Regions from separate parts of the Homo sapiens genome. Here all the other regions are linked to region 5. The links are contacts of gene promoters, found by promoter capture Hi-C in blood cells and fetal thymus (Javierre and others, 2016). All regions are on one chromosome and are shown on one strand. The core of a region is centred on a gene start or on the middle of the fragment in contact, and the rest is flanking DNA. Distances in the headings are between cores, read along the strand shown.

Region 1 (3,693 bases), core at 714-3,213, 330 kb after region 5:
AGATGCTCATTGCTGACAGCTTAGAAAATTGCATGTTCAAAAACACACGCCTAAGGAATAAAAAACGAACAAAATAAAATGTGTTGCCGAACTGGCAAGAAAGTAAGGGAAAATCTCAGAGGCTAAAACTAAAAAGAAAGCAGGAAACTAGAAAGGTTAACACTCTCTAAAGGAGCCATTTGTCCTGAGGATGTCTTCTGAGCCATGATGACCTTGTTATCCAAGTATTTACAGCCTGAACTTATACTAACTGTAAGGTCTAAAACTCTTAGGTTTTAGTTTAAAAGGCTTAGTTTAAAATGAAACACAAGAAAATCCTCTATGAAAGAATGTCCCATCATCCTAGGCCTAAAAAAAATCATACATATAAATTTTCATTGAGCATGAATTCACAATTAAAATATTTAAAATAAGAATAAGCAATGAAAACAAGCAGTATAAGTAAAAATCCAGCAAAGAAAATACTTGGATCACCAACAAAACAATTTCACATGAGAAATAACAGATACAAAATGGAAAATAATGTTTAACATATTTAAAGACATAACAGAGAGCATTATATAGAAAAATTCAGGAGAATAAAAATGACTAGGCAGATTTGCAACAGAACTGATAGAAATAAAAGAGATAAAAACTTATCATTAAAATTAAAACAGATTAAAATGCAGATTAGAATCAGTTGAAGGGAAAATTAATAAACTTGGAAATAGAACTAAAGATATACTATAAAATACAATGAAGAAAGAAAAAGAGATAGAAAATATATCAGTTAAAAAGAAAGTAGAAGATAGAGTAAAAGAATTTGACCTAAGTCTTTACAGAATTTCAAAAGAAGATAATAGAGAAAATGAGAAATATGCAAAGGTTGGAGATAGAATTGAATTTCCAAGAATTAATGACATTAATATACAGATGCAGAAAGTAAAACAAATTTCAGGCATCATAAAAACAAACACATCATAGTAAAGATGTCATATTCCAGAGACAAAGATGATCTTAAAGACATTCAAAGAGAAAAAAAAATGTCTAAAACACCAACAATTAGATATGCAGATAACTTCTAAACAGCAACAATAGAAACCAGAAGAAACTGAAATAATGCTAAGAGAAAATAAGTAAACTCTAGACCTGTATACTCAGTGAAGCTTAATTTAAAGAATAGGATGACATAAAAACATATTTAAGTTGACAAAAGCTATGTTTACTACCAAAAAACCTTCACTGAAGGGAATTCTAAAGAATGTGGTTTGAAAAAAAAGAAAGAAAAAAAGGAAACTCTCTAACGGAAGGTTTAGGAAAACTGAAGACAAAAAGAAAGAATAAGGAGCAAAGACCTCGACTAACATGCAGTTACACAAAAATAAACATTGACTGTATGAAAAAACAATAATAATTTGTGGGGTTCAAAAACACATAATAATACTAATGTACTGGGGAAAATAGCATTTAAGTGAGGAAAGAGTTGATTGTTAATCCTTGTATTGCTGGAAAAGAATACATTAACTGAATTACATTAAGATTAAGCATTCTCATGTTAAAATTTTAATAATAAGTCATTAGATTTGTTAAATTTTAATGGAAAACTCTAAACATAGAAATAGAAATAAGTAAAACAAAATTATTTCATAGAAAGTACGTAGGAAAAAGAAAACTAGAAAACTGAGACATCACAAAAGAAGAAGATATATGATACATTTTAAACCCAAATCAAACCAAATGAGTGGTTAAACTTTCTTGGTTGAAAACCAAAATATTCCAAAGATGATCCAAAAGTAACTGTCAACATCTGCAACCAATCTGAGTTCAAATCCCAACAAATTCTTGTCAGCTTCAACCAAAGATTAGATGAAAGGGAAATATAGTTTTCTTTAATACTATTTGAACCCAGAGGTCGGCCTAATTTAATATTTTTGTTAACTGTAACTCAGCACAACACTTGACAGAAACTAAAAGTTCTGCCCCTTGACCTAGCCATGTGACAAGAAAGGAGTGCATCCTCTGGGGGTAAAACAAAATGAAACAAAAATTGTACATGTGTATTTTGTTCCAATGTTTGGCAGGCAAAAAATTATAAGACACCTCAAGAAGTAAATACATACATACATATATATATATATATATATATATATATATATATATATATATATATAAATTCTAATATTTATTGGATCCTTTTCCAGTTCTTTCATTTTTCTGCTGAAATCATTTATACATTCACTCATTCTGTTCATTTCCTTCCAAATATTTAACATAAGTATAATAAAGTCCCTGTGGGGGCTTATGTTTAAAAATATTTGTAATAGAGAATTCAATGGATAAGATTATCAGCAGACTGAAAAAAGCAAAAGTAAAAATCAGCAACCTTGAAATGAAACAAACTAATGCATAAAGAGAAAATTCACTAAATGAAGATAATAGAAATAATTTTTCCCCAAAATAAAATTGTTGAAAGACTTCCAGTCCAATAATGGTACTCTGTATAATTCAAACCATGAGGCTGCTGTGAACCACTAGAGAAGCTAGTACTTAAAAAGTGTACTTAAAAAGTGTAGCTTGGAGGCATCAGAGAATTAATATTACAGTGAAGAATAGGCAAAGTCCAAAGGAAGGAGAAAAGCGTAGATGAGCTTGGTATTTGCTTTCCACAGAAGAATATGTACATCCAAAAAGATAAAATGAATAGTCTGAGAAGCTGTATGGCACTTCTGACAGCCTAGAAAGGCTAAGGGGACAAAGATTGAGGTCAATGGACCTTCCATGTAGCAGGCCTGGTAAGCTTATCATTGTGTAGGTGATATTTCCAAAGAGCTATGCCCTTGGAGTAACGTAAATTAGAAGTAAACTAGTATTTCAGAGATGGAAGCCCAGCTTTGAATTACCTCAGTTTCTAAAATTATATTAAGATAACCTTGGAATTCTGGTATCCCTAGGTGAACACCAGAATAAATACACATCCTGTCTGAAGGAAGAAAACATCATCTTAGGCCTCAATTACTTCTACACCAATGTCTAGCACTAAACAAAAATGACCATGTTCAGAAGAAGACAAGGGAATATAAAGAATAGAAACATACATGCAGGAAGCCATAGATTTTGGAGTTATAAGACAGAACATAAAACTATCCTTAATATGTTCAAGGGGGTAAATAAAATAAGGAGCAAAAATTTTGCAGAGAATTAAAAACAATGAAAAAGAATGAAATGTAAATTATAGTACAGAAATATACAATGATTTAAATTAGGGACATAATGGGAAATTTTAGAAAAGATTGTATGAAATGAAAAAGATGATAAAATAGAAAATAAAATTAAGCATGATGATAAAAGGTATAAAAAGTACAATTAAGAAAGTAAGAAACATAGATGATAGAATGAGAATGAGAAAAGAGAAAAATATACAAGTTGTATTTGAAGAAACAATGGCCCATCTTCCAAAACTGACAAAATACATGCCCCAAATTTTAAAAACCAAGAAAACATGAACCTCAACTGACCTGAAAAACACACTTGGACACATCAGGGTACAACTACTAAAAACGAAAGACAAATAACATATCAAAAGTAGATTATAAAATGTTGCGGGAAGTCAGGGACCCTGAACGGAGGGACTGGCTGAAGCCATGGTGGAAGAACATAAATTGTGAAGATTTCATGGACATTTATTAGATCCCCAAATTAATACTTTTATAATTT
Region 2 (3,940 bases), core at 582-3,081, 370 kb after region 5:
CCCCATTATAAATCTGTATCCTTGTTTTCACTTAATATACTGTAATTTTCCAAGCCAATAAAATATTTTTTATTTTATTATTATACTTTAAGTTCTGGGGTACATGTGCACAACATACAGGTTTGTTACATATGTATACATGTGCCATGTTGGTTTGCTGCACCCATCAACTCATCATTTACATTAGATATTTCTCCTAATACTATCCCTCCCCCAGCCCCTCACCCTACAACAGGCCCCGGTGCGTGGTGTTCCCCTCCCTGTGTCCATGTGTTCTCATTGTTCAACTCCCATTTATCAGTAAGAACATGTGGTGTTTGGTTTTCTCTTCTTGTGTTACTTTGCTGAGAATGATGGTTTCCAGCTTCATCCATGTCCCTGCAAAGGACACAAACTCATCCTTTTTTATGGCTGCATAGTATTCCATGGTGTAGATGTGCCACATTTTCTTTATCCAGTCATTCACTGATGGACAAGCCAATAAAATATTTTTAAAGTGGCTATAACAAATAGTTGCTATGTAATAAAATACATAATGGAATAGCTCTCCTTTTTTTTCTCTCTTTTTTCAACACCAAAAGATACACTCAGCATTTAAAACATACAAATCACAGGACTGAGATTAAGACTGAAAAGAGGAAAGGAGAAAAATCTAGAACATTGACTTTAAGTACATTTACATTTATTAGGTTGTATTTAAACAACAATATGTTCTATGTGTCAAGTCTTCAAGTTCTTACCCAACTCTGAAGTCTGTATGATAGAATTAGGTTAAGGACTGCATTTTAGATGAGTAAAGACAGGCTCAGTAGTAAAACAGTTTGACAAAGCACTTTTACTTCTTTACATTGAGTAACACAAAACATGAGACAACCTTTGAGACTTTTGTCTTAGGTTGACTAGTCAGATCGCAGTTTTTCTTTGGCAGACTAGTATCTGAATAGACTATTTCAGAGCCAAGATTGGCCTGTTTCTGTGCAAGAGAAGGTGTCCATGTTCCTCTCTACTAGAGGCTGGGAAAAAAGACTCGTATACATTTTTTAGTCATTTTAATTCTCAGAAAAGGAAGACATTAATTTCACGAATAATATGTACATTTTAAAGAATTTTGGTAAATTGCCAAATTGCTTTCCAGAATGTAATTTTTTTAGAAGACAAATGTAATTACTTAATTTCCCTGGTTAGTTGAATCTTTTAAAGGCTTCCATGTTTTTGAGATAGTGGTTGAACTTTGTAGCTTAGTGTTTAAGGCATTTCAAAACCCCCCTATTCTCTCTACTTTATCTTACACTACTTCCCCAGATCAGTTATTATATTTCTCAGACTTCTTGGCTCCCCACATCTCATTATTTCATTCTAATTAGCGTCATAGTACTTCTGTACCTCCTTTTCTCTGCCTTAATATGCTCTCCTTCCCTTCTCTCATTTTCACCAAGGCTAATCCTTCTTTTTTTCTCTCTGGACTCTTGGTTCAGGTGTTATTTCCAGCCTCCCCATTGTGCAACACAGTCTAAATTTCATTTCTTGTCACAACACCCTCTGTGTACTTTTACCAAGACACTATATTTAACTGTAATTATTGACTTGTTATTTCTTTGAAAGTAAAACATACCTTTAAAGTTGATATGTGCCTTCCTAGTATTTAGCTGTCATACACGATCGAGTAAATTAGGCCAAGTCCATAAATTCACCATGTTCTCCCTTTCCTCCATTTCACCATCAATGTAATCCTGTCTTTCCTGCTCCTTAAAACAAACACCCAGATTGTCTTACTACTAATCACTTCAGAGAAATAGAGATGCAACTAGGGGCAAGTTTGATAAAACAAATAATACAACACTGGGAACTTATAAACATTGAATACATGTTTACAGTGGTTATTCCTTCTTTTTTATGATGTAAGTGTAATACAAATTGTTTTTCTGAAAGCCTGAAAGTCAGTTTCATTCTTAGAAGGTTTGAAAGAAGCCTCTCCTGGATCTATTTATTCTGTTGTACGCTTAGTAGGGTCCTCAAGATAGAGCAACTTGTGTGAATTTGCAGGTCATTTAAATAGCCACTTGAACAGTGCTCCCAGATTTGTGTGGAAAATGTACATCCCAGGGGAGTTTTGTGTGTGCATTTATTACATCTCCCATGTATTGGGGGAAATTCTTCATTGGTCTTAGTGAAAGAAAGTAAATCTTCCATCCTCTTACTCCCTCCCAACTCACATCAGTTACTTCTTGATAGAAAAAATCCCATTTGTTTCTGTGAAATGGTTTGGCTGTGCCTCCACCCAAATCTCATCTTGAATTGTAACTCCCATATTTCCCATGTGTCATGGGAGGAACCTGGTGGGAGGTGATTGAAATGTGGGGGCAGGTCTTTTCTGTGCTGTTCCTGTGATAGTGAATGAGTCTCAGGAGATCTGATGGTTTTAAAAAGGGGCGTTTCCCTGCACAAATTCTCTTGTCCACCGCCATGTGAGATGCGCTTTTCACCTTCTGCCATGATTGTGAGGCCTCCCGAGCCATGTGGAACTGTAAGTCCAATAAACCTCTTTCTTTTGTAAATTGCCCAGTCTTGAGTATGTCTTTATCAGCAGCATGAAAATGGTAAATTAGTACCAGTAGAGTTGGGTGCAGCTGAAAAGATACCTGAAAATGTGGAAGTGACTTTGGAACTGGGTAGCAGGCAGAGGTTGGAAGAGTTTGGAGGGCTCAGAAGAAGACAGGAAAATGTGGGCAAGTTTGAAACTTCCTAGAGACTTGAATAGCTTTGCCCAAAATGCTGAGAGCAATATGGACAATAAAGTCCAGGTTGAGGTGATCTCAGATGGAGATGAGGAACTTGTTGGGAACTGGAGCAAAGGTGACTCTCGTTATGTTTTAGCAAAGAAACTGGTGGCATCTCTCCCCTGCCCTAGAGATCTGTGGAACTTTGAACTTGAGAGAGATGATTTAGGGTATCTGGTGGAAGAAATTTCTAAGCAGCAAAGCATTCAAGGTGACTTGGGTGCTATTAAAGACATTCAGTTTTATAAGGGAAGCAGAGCATAAAGGTTTGGAAAATTTGCAGCCTGACAATGTGATAGAAAAGAAAAACCCATTTTCTGAGGAGAAATTCAAGCCAGCTGCAGAAACTTGCATAAGTAACAGGGAACCAAATGTTAAATCACCAAGACAATGGGGGAAAATGTCTCCATGGCGTATCAGAGATCTTCACGGCAGCCTCTCCCATCACAGGCCCAGAGGCCTAGGAGAAAATGGTTTCGTGGGCCAGGTCCACGTGCTGTGTGCAGCCTAGGGACTTGGTGCCCTGCATCCCAACCACTCTAATCATGGCTTCAGAGGGTGCAAGCCCAAGCCTTGGCAGCTTCCACGTGATGTTGAGTCTGCGAGTGCACGGAAGTCAAGAATTGAGGTTTGGAAACCTCCGCCTATATTTCAGAAGATGTATGGAAACGTCTGGATGCCCCTGCAGACGTTTGCTGCAGGGGCGGGGTCCTCATGGAGAACCTCTGCTAGAGCAGTGCAGAAGGGAAATGTGGGGTGGGAGCCCCCACACAGAGTCCCTACTAGGGCACCGCCTAGTGGAGCTCTGAGAAGAGGGCCTCTGTCCTCCAGACCCCAGAATGGTAGCTCCACTGACAGCTTGCACCATGTGCCTGGAAATGCCACACTCAATGCCAGCCCATGAAGGCAGCCAGGAGGAGACTGTACCCGGCAACGCCACAGAGGGGGAGCTGCCCAAGACCATGGGAACTCACTTCTAGCATCAGTGTGACTCAGATGCAAAACATGGAGTCAAAGGGAGCATTAAGATTTGACTGCCTGCTGGACTTTGACATAGGGATTGTAGCCCCTTTGTTTTGGCCAATTTCTCCCATTTGGAATGGCTGTATTTACCCAATGCCTGTATCCCCATTGTATTTAGGAAGTAACTAACTTGCTTTTGA
Region 3 (3,836 bases), core at 870-3,369, 380 kb after region 5:
AGTTATTTCTACCTATCTCAGAATACTTTAAAGACAAATCTTAAACAACTGTGCTATTACAAATAGCAAGTAGAACATTAATAGCTGCAGGCACATCACTTGATATCTACATCTTCCAGCTATAGCCCGTATGTAATGAATTCTGTGAAAGAGGAAAAATATAAATCTCAATCTATTATCATTTAAAGTTTTTTTTTTTAATTTTCATTTTGCTGGGGATAAGGAAGAGGGCAGTATCATGGTTTCATTAAGTTTACCTTTTTTAAACAGAAAAATTAAAAATATCATAATTTTAATTAGAAAAACAAAAGATGTCTCTTGTAGACTTTCTTGGCCAAGCACTAGCAAGTCTAGGAAAAGAAAGATGCATATAATTAATGCTCTCTCTTAGATATAAGCAACCAACCAGTTAGGTGTTACTATGAAAGTAAAATGTACATAAAATTAATGTTTCCTATTTAAATTTGCAAGTCTACTTTTCAAAAATATCCTAATACTTGTTTTGCATGGCAGTGGAAGACCATAAAAATGATCATGGTAAGGTGAAACCATGCAAAGCTTTCTTAATAATCAATAGGAAAAATTACAATTGTTCTGTGGCCTTTAAAAATTTTTGGTAAACATTAAAAGCTTTTACTGTTGGTTATAAATGTATAGGAAAATGAAAAATAAAACTAATGTTTATAATTTAATATGCTGTATTTTTAACACATTAGAACATGGAGAATGAAAGTGTTTTATTTCTGTGTAAAATACTTATCAGGAATAGTCTGAACAGTGCTTGCTTTCTTCTTATTATCAATTAACTTGCAGTATGGACCAAGTACCTTTCCTATGCCTTATAAATTGTCATACCACTTTCTAACTCTGAATCAGCTTCCAATGTTTTATCCCTTGCCTTTTCAATGTCTTGGAATATCTCCAAGAATTGTGAAGTTTTTCCCCACTTTACATCCTCTAAGATGTTTTCATCCTTTTTGTCATAACCACTTTCCTCATTTTCTTGAGCAATGGCAGTGTCAACATTCCCACAGTCAGCCATTCCCTCTATAACTCCATTTATGCTTGATTCCAATTTTATTTTCAGTGTTATCACTTTTCATTTCTTTGCTACGCTTTTATCTTTGTTGGCCAATTCTCTTTTTGATTATCCATTTCTGTAAAATATCATAGCGTTTATCACTGGGAGACAATTAGGCAATACAGCTACATGCTTTGTTGTTTGTGCATAAGGAATAACCAATGTGCAGTGACCAATCATTGACAAACTATACAATAAGTGGTGTGATTGTCACAGATCATGATATGCATCTGTTATTTATGTACTGATTTGTGGACTGAAGAGCTACTTTATACTATACTCAGTTAATATACCGAAGTATCTTTGTATCTAATATTTAAGATAAACAGTGTTGTTACTGGACTGATAACATTTAACTAAAGTGTGGTAACTGAAATTTGTGTCACTGAAACACTGCAAAATAAGGACTTCCTGTATTAGCATATATACCTAATTATATACATCTTAAGAAAATATGTTACAAATATCACACATACACCAAGGAAAAGTAAAGAAAAGCTACCTACCAGTGTGGGATGATTGAGATTCATCATCACTATCATCATCTTTTCTTCCTTTCTTCTTGACTTTTTTAATTTTGTACTCTCTGGCATTGCCCCCACCTCCTCCTCTCATGCTTCCACTGCCCTCTGGTGGGAAAATGACATTAGTTAGCATTACCTAACTAAATCATCATTTTTATAAAATAATGACACTATATTGTTGTATTTAACTTTACAGCAGAAAAAATAAAGGCAAAATAAAGAAACTTTTAGACTCTTTTTAAATTTGGAGTTCCCTATTAAAAGTTTAGTAAATCCAATACATAAAAAATTAATAATAAAATATGAAATCTTTTGAGCAATCTACCTTAGATAGCCTGACTGCTCTAAATGCATTCTCTTTCTCCTTCTCTAACGTCACCTCTTTCCTGTAACTCTCAATATTTTCTTAACAAAAATCCATTCCTTCACCTCCTCTTCTACCTTCCCCAAAAGAAATGTGTCCTCCTTTGCTCATCTGTGTTACCACAGCCTCATCAATAACCTTCTATTATAAGACTTCACAAATTTAATTATTCTTATTTTGCCTTCTTTGTTGAAAGATTATTACCTGTTTTTAGAGGAGATATCCTGACTCATCTGCTACTCAAACAGATTATAAACTTCTGAAGAGCAAGGATCATTGTGTCATTAATGTATATATTCTTTACAGAAATGCGTGAAACATAACACGTGCTTCATAAATGTTGACCATGAATATTAATTGGTTAAGTATAAAAGTATTATTACCTATTGACTATAGACTTAAAAAAACAAATTATGAAACAAATGCAAACACTGTAAATAAAAATAAAAAATACTACTTCAGCATTTCCCTGCTCTTTGATATTGACATGTAAAATATCTACTCTACAAAATGGAATACTGATAACGGGTTTAAACCATTGAACATATTACAACTATATTATATTACTTCAAAATAAGTAAAAGATTAGTCTTTTTAATAAAATAAAGTGATTACTAAAGATCTTTTTCTAAATTCTAAATAGATTTGCCTTAGATTTCATCACATCCTAGATTTAAACTTCTATTATTTTTCCCTTTCTTTTATAATAAAAAAATTCTATTTTCAAAAATATAAGTCTAAAGTGAACATGCTTTTTATATTTGACAATAAGTTTCCTATGGGGGGGAACATTCATGATTGACATGATTCCACACACTGTAATTAAACAATTATAATACAATAGCATTATCACTGAAAATAAAACACCAAATGACCCTTAACTTTTAATAAGAAATAAAATATTAAATAGACTAGTTATACTGACATAAGTCATCAATTGAGTAAGGCAAATTTATAACTATATCTTCAAATATATGATAAAATATCCATAGCTATGAATATTACTGTGATTTAAGTAATTTATTAATTTTCCTGGAAGAATAGAGAAATTTCATAATGCCATTGAAAAGTTTTAAGAAAAAGATTCTGGAAGAGGAAATAAACTATCTCAAAGAATTAGAAGTGTATTTATTAATGAAAAATGTTGAATATTGAATTTCTTCAGTTCCGATAAAGCACTAACAGCACTGTTCCTACTATAAAAACTATGGAAATACATGTTACTTTTCCATTGCAAATTACAAGCATATCAGTGATACCTAGAATAATTTCTAGTGACTTTAGATTAGAAAAAGAAATGTAAAAATATGTCCTTCAGAAATTTTTTCATTTAATTAGTATGTTTATAGGACACCTAAAATATATCAAGTGGTGCTTTGGGTATGTAGCAAGAGTACAACAATAAATGAGATCAACACAGTTCCCAAACAATAAAACACATCATGGTGATAAAGTGATGCAAATAAACTGACAAAATGAGGTGGCAGAGAGTGACTGTGGCTACTATTCCGAAGGGTTAGGAGGCCTCTCTAAGGAAGTGGCATTTAAAGTCGAGCTCTGAATGAAAAGAATACACCAGTTACTTACAGTCTGGGAGAGGGCATTCCAGGTAAAAGGAACAGTTGGTGTAAAAGCTTTGAGGTGAATATGACCCTGGCAAGTTTAGGAATCAAAACAAAACAAAACAAAACAAAAAAGGGCTACTGGGCTGGAACATAGACAGAGGATGGGGAAAAACAAGAGATGAGCATGATGATAAAATAAAGTTTTCACAAAAGAAAACAGAAAACATAATCACCAATATTTCCATTTTATTATATAAAACTTAACACATTAGCAAAATATTTGGTTGATATTAGCTGTTTAA
Region 4 (3,749 bases), core at 173-2,672, 430 kb after region 5:
AAAACAATGACTCTGAAAAGAATGCAAAATAAGCATCTCAGTGTTTAAACTTGCATCATAAATCCCATGGGTTTTATTTTATAGGAAACGCTTAGGTCCTGATTCAGAGCCTACTCACTGTGTTTTATATAAAATTCCTACATGCTTAATTATTTACTTTCTGAGCTTACAGATGGTATATGGAGTGTGTATATCTAGGTAATCCTGAGAAAACCACTAGACTGTAAACTCCATGAGAGCAGAGACCAGATTTATTTTATTTGATTTTGGATTTCCAGTGTTTAGCACATTCCTGCTGTATAGCAGCTGGACAAGAAAAATTTAACAAAGAAATGAATGATAATTAATTGGAAGTAATCAGGGAATCTAGACCTGTCTTAATGAAACAGATGTGAGATATATCCTCTGAAGCCTAAAAAATCAAAGTGGTGATGCTAACAGTGTTGCCTTTTAGAGATAGTTGGAATGGAAAAATATTTATTTTTTTCCGAGGTCTGCCAGTTCTGTCTTGAATGACCTAAACCATGAAATTTATACCTCAGAATATTGGCAACTATTTAGATCAAACGAAACTCAACCATCTTCAAAAAAGTGACCTTTCAGAGAAAGTTGCTGTTCTTTTATTGACTTCTTAAATCAAACTTATTTTTAATGTGTCCCACATGTTTAAAACATAGTCTGCATCAAACTTAACTCTAAATTATGATGCATCTGAACCTAAATATTGTCTCAACTAAAAATTTTTAATCAAAATAACAGTGCACTTACTGGCTTAATTCAACATGGGGGAGCTGATGTTTCTGAACCCTGGAGGCTAATCCTATGATAGCAATAGTCCTTGAGTAGTGTAGATTCTTTTGCTTCTATTTTTGAAGAAAGGTAATGAATATAAAGGTAATGAATATAAAGGAATATAAACATCAGAGTTCTACTTCATTAAAATGTGGTTTAAAATGAGGTGAAAACTGTCAGAATATTCTTATTATCATGTGTTATGAACAGAGTATGCCAGGGAATAATTTATTCATCTAGAATGAGCGTGCTAACTGTAAAACCCTTTGGTTAAAAGCACAGACTCTGAAGCAGACTAAAGTGCTTAAATCTTGGCTGTGTCACTTACCAGCTATATGACCTTGGTAATACTTCATCTTTTTGGGCCTCGGATTTCTCATTTGTGAAATGATGGTAATAATATTACCTATTTAACAGGCTTGTTGTGAAGATTCAATGAGTTAATATGAAGTTCATAGAAAGTGCCTGGAATAGTGGCCGGGTGTGGTGGCTCACACCTGTAATCCCAGCACTTTGGGAGGCCGAGGCAGATGGATCACGAGGTCAGGAGATCTAGACCATCCTGGCTAACACAGTGAAACTCTGTCTCTACTAAAAATACAAAAAATTAGCTGGGCATGGTGGCAGGCGCCTGTAGTCCAGCTACTTGGGAGGCTGAGGCAGGAGAATGGTGTGAATCCGTGAGGCAGAGGTTGCAGTGAGCCGAGATTGCACCACTGCACTCCACCCTGGGCGACAGAGCAAGACTCCATCTCAAAAAAAAAAAAAAAATAAAAATAAAAGTGCCTGGAATATAAGTGCTAAATAAGTGTTTGGTCACTCATTGTTTCTCATAAAGTGACACAAAACTTTAATCATTCTTTGGAGAAAGTTATGTGAAAAGGAAGAGCAGCATGCAGTCATAACATTAATTCCATCAATTCCTTGGCTGTATCTCTGTGCAATTAGGCAATCGTTTTATTGCTAGTGCTATTCCAAGGTTATTTCACTTCAGTGGGCCTAGGAAGGCTTTAATGCTGACTTCTTTCCCATCATGAGCAGAGTAATGGGTCCTTTGGATACCAAACCCCTTGGTGTAGCTTACTTGGCTTAAATTAATGTGCTCTGTTCAACCAGTCACACCTTCCTTACCCCCAGGATCCCACAGCGTCTCTCATTCTTGCCACCACCAAAGCAGCCTGCCAGCTTGTACTTGCCCCTCGAAGTTCCCAGGCAAGAGTCAGAGAAAGGTTCCCTGTGTCCTCCTAACTCCATGGTATGGATCAGACACTTACATGTGCAGATCCTCTTTCTCCCTTGGCTCACAGCACCCTGGCAACTCTCACCAAATAAATCCTCCTTCCAAATCCTTTCTCCAGTCTTATTGTTTACTCCTTATTACTTGCCATGTGGGTTTTAGGGTTGTCTAACTAGTTCTCAACAATACCACTTGGAAAATGTGTAAGTACTACTGGATGTTGTCCCTTAATTCATTTTAATATCTGATGTTCACATACCTTGGTGTCTCAGTTAAAATTTCTTATTTTCTTATAGAAGCAATAGCCTGGTTCTATAAAGACATTAATGATATTTTTTAAATAAAGTTTTAATCCAGACTTTCTGTTCCTGCAGATTCCTTTTGTGCAGTGTGTGTTTTTCTCTGCTCTTTATCCTTCTTCCTGCACCCTTTTTTTCAAGAGTCTGGTGGTCCTCGACTGCCCTCATTTCAGACAGAGGAACTGCACACTGACTGGAAACTCTGTCTGCATGTGTTGATTGGACTGTACACTGTGGCCTCTCTGCAGGGCAATCTAGCTGGCATTTCCACTGTGGAACACTAGCAAAAATGAATGTGTTAGGTCTTTCATCCAGGGATGATTATGCCAAGAAAAGAATCCTCCAATTTCCTGCTTTTGAAGTATGGGTGGTAGATAGGATCTGGATTGTCAGTTTTCTAAGCCAAAGTGAAGGAGACAGGGGTTTCACCATTCATAATGTAGACTTTGCTGATTCTCCTGTTTCAAGTATTGCATCTCACTCTTGCCCTCAGCCGTGATGTTATCTGTAAGTCTCGAACCTCTGTGGGCCAGATCTTTGGATTCTCCTGGTTCTGTCTGTCTTGTACCAGTATACAGTGGATCTGTGTGTGTGATGAGTGAGGAAGGGGATAAGAGACTTTCATCCAGTCTTCCTGTGAACAGCGTCATTTATACCTTCACTAACAGAGATACTTGACCCTCCAATTCCTAAGCCTTTCTGCAGGTCTGCAAACTTTGTTTGCCAGATAAGGTTGCTATTTATCCTGGTAACTGAAGACAAAGGGCATATACTCTTGGGAGTTCTGGAACAGGTGTTGGTTTCCATGACTGAGAGACCCATAGATGGTTCACATCACAGGACTCTGTGCAGACAACCCCCAGTACCAGCCTGGAGCCTGGTAGACTTGCTAGGTTGCTAGATCCAGAACAGAGATAACAATCACTACAGCTCAGCTCTCAGAAAGCAACATGCACAGGAAAAAGGGAAGAGTACTACATCAGGGCAACATCCTATGGGACAAAACAATCTGAAAAACAGCCTTCAGCCCTAGACCTTCCTTCTGACAGAGCCTGCCCAAAGAAGAAGGAACCAGAAAACCAATTCTGGTAATATGACAAAACAAGGTTATTTACCACGCCCGAAAAATCACACTAGCTCACCAACAACGGATCCAAATGAAGAAGAAATCCCTGATTTACCTGAAAAAGAATTCGGGAGGTTAGTTATTAAGCTAATTAGGGAGGCACCAGGGAAAAGTGAAGCCCAGTGTAAGGAAATCAAAAAATGGTACAAAAGGTGAAGGGAGGAATATTCAACGAAATTGATAGCATAAATAAAAAGTAATAAAAACTTCAGGAAACAATGGACACACTTATAGAAATGCAAAATGCTCTGGAAAGCCTCAGCAATAGAATTGAACAAGTAGAAGAAAGGAATTC
Region 5 (4,257 bases), core at 1,638-4,137:
CCTCTCTGGATCCACCAAAGAGACAATGTAAATAAAATGACACTCCTCTCTGACTACTTACCTACTTCAGTGAAGTCCACTAGCATCTCTGTAGCTCTAGGAGAAACACGAGAAAATGGCAGCTTCTCAAGACGTATTTACCTCACTACAAGATAGTTATTAAAGGAGTAAACATTTTGTATACCAGGGTGCTGGGATTTAATGTCTCTGAGTTCCCACTTATGTTTTCATTCCTTTGGCATCTTGCAGTATTCAGTGGTGGGTTTTACCTAATTATCTAACACTTTAATCAGACATTTTCATTAAAGGCTCAGGATGCTCCATTTGCTGACCAATCCTACGTCTTCCTATAACAAGCACTCAACTGAGTTTTTCTCCACTTCTTGGCCTTATGGCAAGAAAAAAAACATTAAGCCAGGAACATAAGTTCTAAACTATATATGCTTTTGTTTCACCAGATTCAAAAATTCCTATTTTAGAGCACTTCATGGTCTTTTATTTTCTGAGATATAAGACAGAGATCTAGAAAACCTCAAAAAATTTTTGAACCTGTTTATTGAAAAACAAAGGTAGAGCATTTATTAGACTTTAATATTGAAATAAAAAACTGATCACTCACAATGATGGATGTATTTTTTCACATCAGTATTTTGTTAGAGAATACTAACTTATAATTGAGTGAGACATCAGTAATTATGGGTTGCTAACTAGCAGGCCACAGGCTAGATATGACCCAGATACAATTTTTAATGTGGTCCTTACAGTTTTTAAAATTAAGGATACCTCATAAAAAAAATCCAGAAGCTTCTGTTTTCCTTAAAAAACTGTCATGTTTTAGAGCCTGGACAGTAACAATCGGCTACAGTGGAGTGGGAGCTGCCTCCTTTACAGTGGTTTGCAAGTTCCAGAGGCCACAGTTCACACTCCACTCCCTACCCTCTCTCCCACGTGTCTTGTCTAGGCCTGCTCCACTCCTTTATCTCACTTGTCAGATCCCTGCACACATCTGAAACGCACACACAACTTTTTTTTAAAGGCAAGGAGACTGGATCCAGAAAGGGCTTCCCCATTCACTAGCTGTGACCTTCAGCAAGGTTTGAGTCTTGGGTTCCTCAGCTTTAAATGGAAGGTAATTTATTGGCCTCAAAGGGTTGTTGTGAGGATTAAAAAAGAAGTATATGAAAAGTGCTTTCTACACTGTAATGTAAAATGTTTGTCATCATTCATCTCCCAAAGCTCTGTGAATTGCATAAATCCCCTCTATCTACCTCTGTCATTATTTGGCTTACTTGCTCCTCACATTATTTATTACACTCTCTATGACAGAGTTTAAAATCTAAATTAGAAGAATTTGACTTATTTCCTTGGGTCATTTAACAAGAAGTAGAAAAGATGAACAAATATCCAAGGAAAACAAAATTAATTCTTGAATGCCAGTGGATCTTTACTGGGCCATTTGTTTGTGATGGAGGCATGAAATTCGTGCAAAGTGTAATTACTGGATTGCTGATGCCTTCAAGTACTGTGTTACAAGTTCACCCAATAGACACCCGAGACCTCAAAATAAAACAAAACTGACAGCCCAGGTATTAGGCTGACCTGTTCCATTGGCCTATCAGTGTTCCAGTAGAGGACCCAGTCCCATCAGAAAAAAAACAAAAAGCAAAAACCACTGCACTTTCATATAAGCTCTAGTAAGCCATGGCACACATTTTATATCTATCTCTATCTGTGTATAGAGATAGATCTAAAAATAATCAATAAGAGATTTTTTAAAAAACAGAATCTTCTCAGAAATGAGCAGAGGTGCAAAAAACTGCGCTTCAATACTGATGCAGGGGATATAAAAATGCTAGCAAAGATGTATGTCATGAATGCTACCTTCTTACGTTACGAATTCACAAACGTATTCCTGTTCTGGTCAATTTACAATAGAAGCTCATTCTTGTGTGGGGAAACACAATTAAATCATCTGCTTTTAATTTAAAATAATCACGACTAAGTGAACTGCAAAATAAAACTGGAAATAGAGGGGAAGAAGGGATCTAAACTGCAGTCATCTTTCTTTATAAGATCACCAAAATGGGAGTAAATTATGATTCAAGACACAATCCGTTGAAAAATTCATCTGACGAATCCTTTTTAAAGCATACCATATAGTGCAATTACGGCTTTTCTTGAAGTTGAATGAAACCGCCACCTGAATACAGATTAACAAATGCCAAATTACGAAAGGTCCTCAGTGTATATTTTATTTTAAATATCAAAATAAATAACGGCATCATTTAAGAAACCAGTTCTTTCAATAGATGTCCCACGGCTGATGTTTAAGCAAGTCTCCTTGGCAACCAAGGAGCACAGTACATATTGGGCTCAGGGGGAGGGAAGAAAGGGGGAGCGACTCCAGGGCTGGCAGCATAAGTAACCTGAGTAGTGGCTGCTCCCGTTAGACGACACGGGCAGAGGCTGCATGGGCTGCAAGCCCCTGAAATGTCAACTCCGGGTCTGCCCCCACTTGGCGCACCAGCAGCCTCCCACCCTCTTCCTCAGGTCTGCAGAACAGGTTACAAGGAGAGAGACTGGCTTACCCGATGGGGTGAGCGGTCTGCTGGGTTAGGTGCCAGAGACGGCAGCGCAGGCACCGGCCTCTCCTTGATGCACAATGGCTCTGCTTCGCCCCACGATGCTGAGGTTAACAGAACCCGCAGTAGCTTCGCTCTGCTGGTTCGGGGATGCAGTAGCGAAGACGAGCGTCCTAGCGTGTTTGTGTGTGCGAAAGTGTGTGTGTGTGTGTGTGTGTGTGTGTGTGTGTGCCTGCGTGCGTGTGTGCGCGCGACTGCCTGCGCGCTCCCGAACTGTCGCGCGGGGAAACTGCTCCCTAGTAAATAAAAAGCCCTAGCCAGCACTGCAGGTGGCACGTCCCGCTGACTCCGCCCCAGGCGGTCGCGTCAGACTGGAGACGCACCTTGGCACCCCCGGGGCGGGTTCAGACGCCACAGGGCTCCGCCCCCTCCCGCCTCCAGCTAGCCCGCGCGCTCCCTCCCCCTCCCCCGCGATCCCGCGCACATCCTTTCGCCACCCCGCGCGCAACGCCACCGCCCGCCGCCAGCGCGCTCGCTCCCCTGCCGCCCCCCGCCCCCGCCCCCGCCGTCGGCGAGCTGCCAGCGCGCGCCCGCCGGTCCCGGAAGTACCCTCCTCCACGCCGCCCTCCTCCTCGCTCTCCGGCACCTGCGTCGCCGGCCCCTGGGTCACATGCGCAGTCTGTAGCCACCACTGCGGCGACTGAGACCCGGGAACCCAGCCTGCTCGCCCCCAGACTCCTTTCCCAGGGCTGGCGGGCAATCTGAGCAAACAGACCCCGTGGCCCTAACTCGGTGTTCCAGGGAGTCCTTGCTCTGCTAACTTGTGAAGTTCAAGTTGCCTCTAGTCCTAGCGGCCCTACAGTGGCCCTCCTTAGGATAATACACTCTATGGTACTGACCAGAACAAATTCACAGTAACTTTAAGAAACGTCAGGGGAACCAACCCGCCAGAGGTGGACGAAATCCCCAAGCCTGAGAAATGAGAAAGGGTGTGATTACTGTGGTTACTACTAATTCAGCAATAAAACCGCAAACAGACAACAACCACAGAACCATACCATTAAATTCCAGGGCCTGGCACACTCAAGTGCCACTTCCGAGTCATTCAGGTCACTCCTGTGTAAAACATGCTGAGAAACTCACACTAAAGCAAAGTGGGTAATTTTAATAGGTAAGTATTCCACCACCGAATTGAAAACCTTAGTCCAACGTGGAGGTAAGACACCAGAAGCAGGAAGAGTGTAACTAAATTGGAGTAAACTGTATTTTGTAGAAGTTCAGGATTTAACTTACTGCAAAGATAGTATGTTAATCCTATTTCTTGCAGGTTTATGTTCTGCCACAGAGTTGGGCTAGGAACAGTGCCCTGATCTATTTTGAGGTGTCCTTAATGTTCTCATTGGTCTCAAATCAGTGGTTCAGCGATTATTTTCTACTTCTAGATCCACAGGATTTGGGGGTTTATTCGTTTGCTCCCTCTGGAGGTTATCTGTCTGGCTTGTAGTGCTTCATTTTCATGGTTTTGATATCTGGACGCTAGGATGCTGGGTACCTACTTATCTAGCAGTCCTGGACACAGCATAGGACAAGGGAAAGAATGACAAACAACTGACTACAAACATTAGGTGCAGTGTCATCCTAAGAATTTTTCATAAGCAACTTGATAGTTTTCATT

Evidence for each region. Contacts are between HindIII fragments. The CHiCAGO score rates a contact against its expected background, and 5 or more counts as called.
Region 1: a contact is called between a fragment that was not itself captured here and the fragment with the promoter of KLHL32 in region 5, in 1 of 17 cell types (total B cells). The highest score is 7.4, in total B cells.
Region 2: a fragment that was not itself captured here is called in contact with the fragment with the promoter of KLHL32 in region 5 in 9 of 17 cell types (naive CD4 T cells, fetal thymus, total CD4 T cells and 6 more); the score reaches 10.0 in naive CD4 T cells.
Region 3: a contact is called between a fragment that was not itself captured here and the fragment with the promoter of KLHL32 in region 5, in 9 of 17 cell types (non-activated CD4 T cells, total CD4 T cells, total B cells and 6 more). The highest score is 10.6, in non-activated CD4 T cells.
Region 4: a contact is called between a fragment that was not itself captured here and the fragment with the promoter of KLHL32 in region 5, in 2 of 17 cell types (naive CD8 T cells and total CD4 T cells). The highest score is 5.6, in naive CD8 T cells.

Annotation. Positions count from the first base shown.
Region 1 is chr6:96,592,685-96,596,377 of GRCh38, reverse strand. The region is part of intron 1 of FHL5 (four and a half LIM domains 5); the gene reads right to left. Among named protein-coding and RNA genes, the nearest start is that of FHL5, 31 kb to the right of the region's middle. The HindIII fragment of the contact is 1,631 bases long and covers 1,148-2,778 here.
Region 2 is chr6:96,556,427-96,560,366 of GRCh38, reverse strand. No RefSeq gene overlaps it. Among named protein-coding and RNA genes, the nearest start is that of FHL5, 4.7 kb to the left of the region's middle. The HindIII fragment of the contact is 6,486 bases long and covers 1-3,940 here.
Region 3 is chr6:96,540,768-96,544,603 of GRCh38, reverse strand. UFL1 (UFM1 specific ligase 1) reads right to left here. Exons shown (of 19, transcript NM_015323.5): 12 at 1,588-1,710. Among named protein-coding and RNA genes, the nearest start is that of FHL5, 20 kb to the left of the region's middle. The HindIII fragment of the contact is 2,973 bases long and covers 633-3,605 here.
Region 4 is chr6:96,488,507-96,492,255 of GRCh38, reverse strand. All of the region lies in intron 1 of UFL1-AS1 (UFL1 antisense RNA 1), which reads left to right. Among named protein-coding and RNA genes, the nearest start is that of UFL1-AS1, 31 kb to the left of the region's middle. The HindIII fragment of the contact is 5,668 bases long and covers 1-3,749 here.
Region 5 is chr6:96,923,358-96,927,614 of GRCh38, reverse strand. KLHL32 (kelch like family member 32) reads right to left here and starts at 2,887. Exons shown (of 11, transcript NM_052904.4): 1 at 2,589-2,887. RefSeq lists a silencer at 2,851-3,160. The HindIII fragment of the contact is 7,655 bases long and covers 807-4,257 here.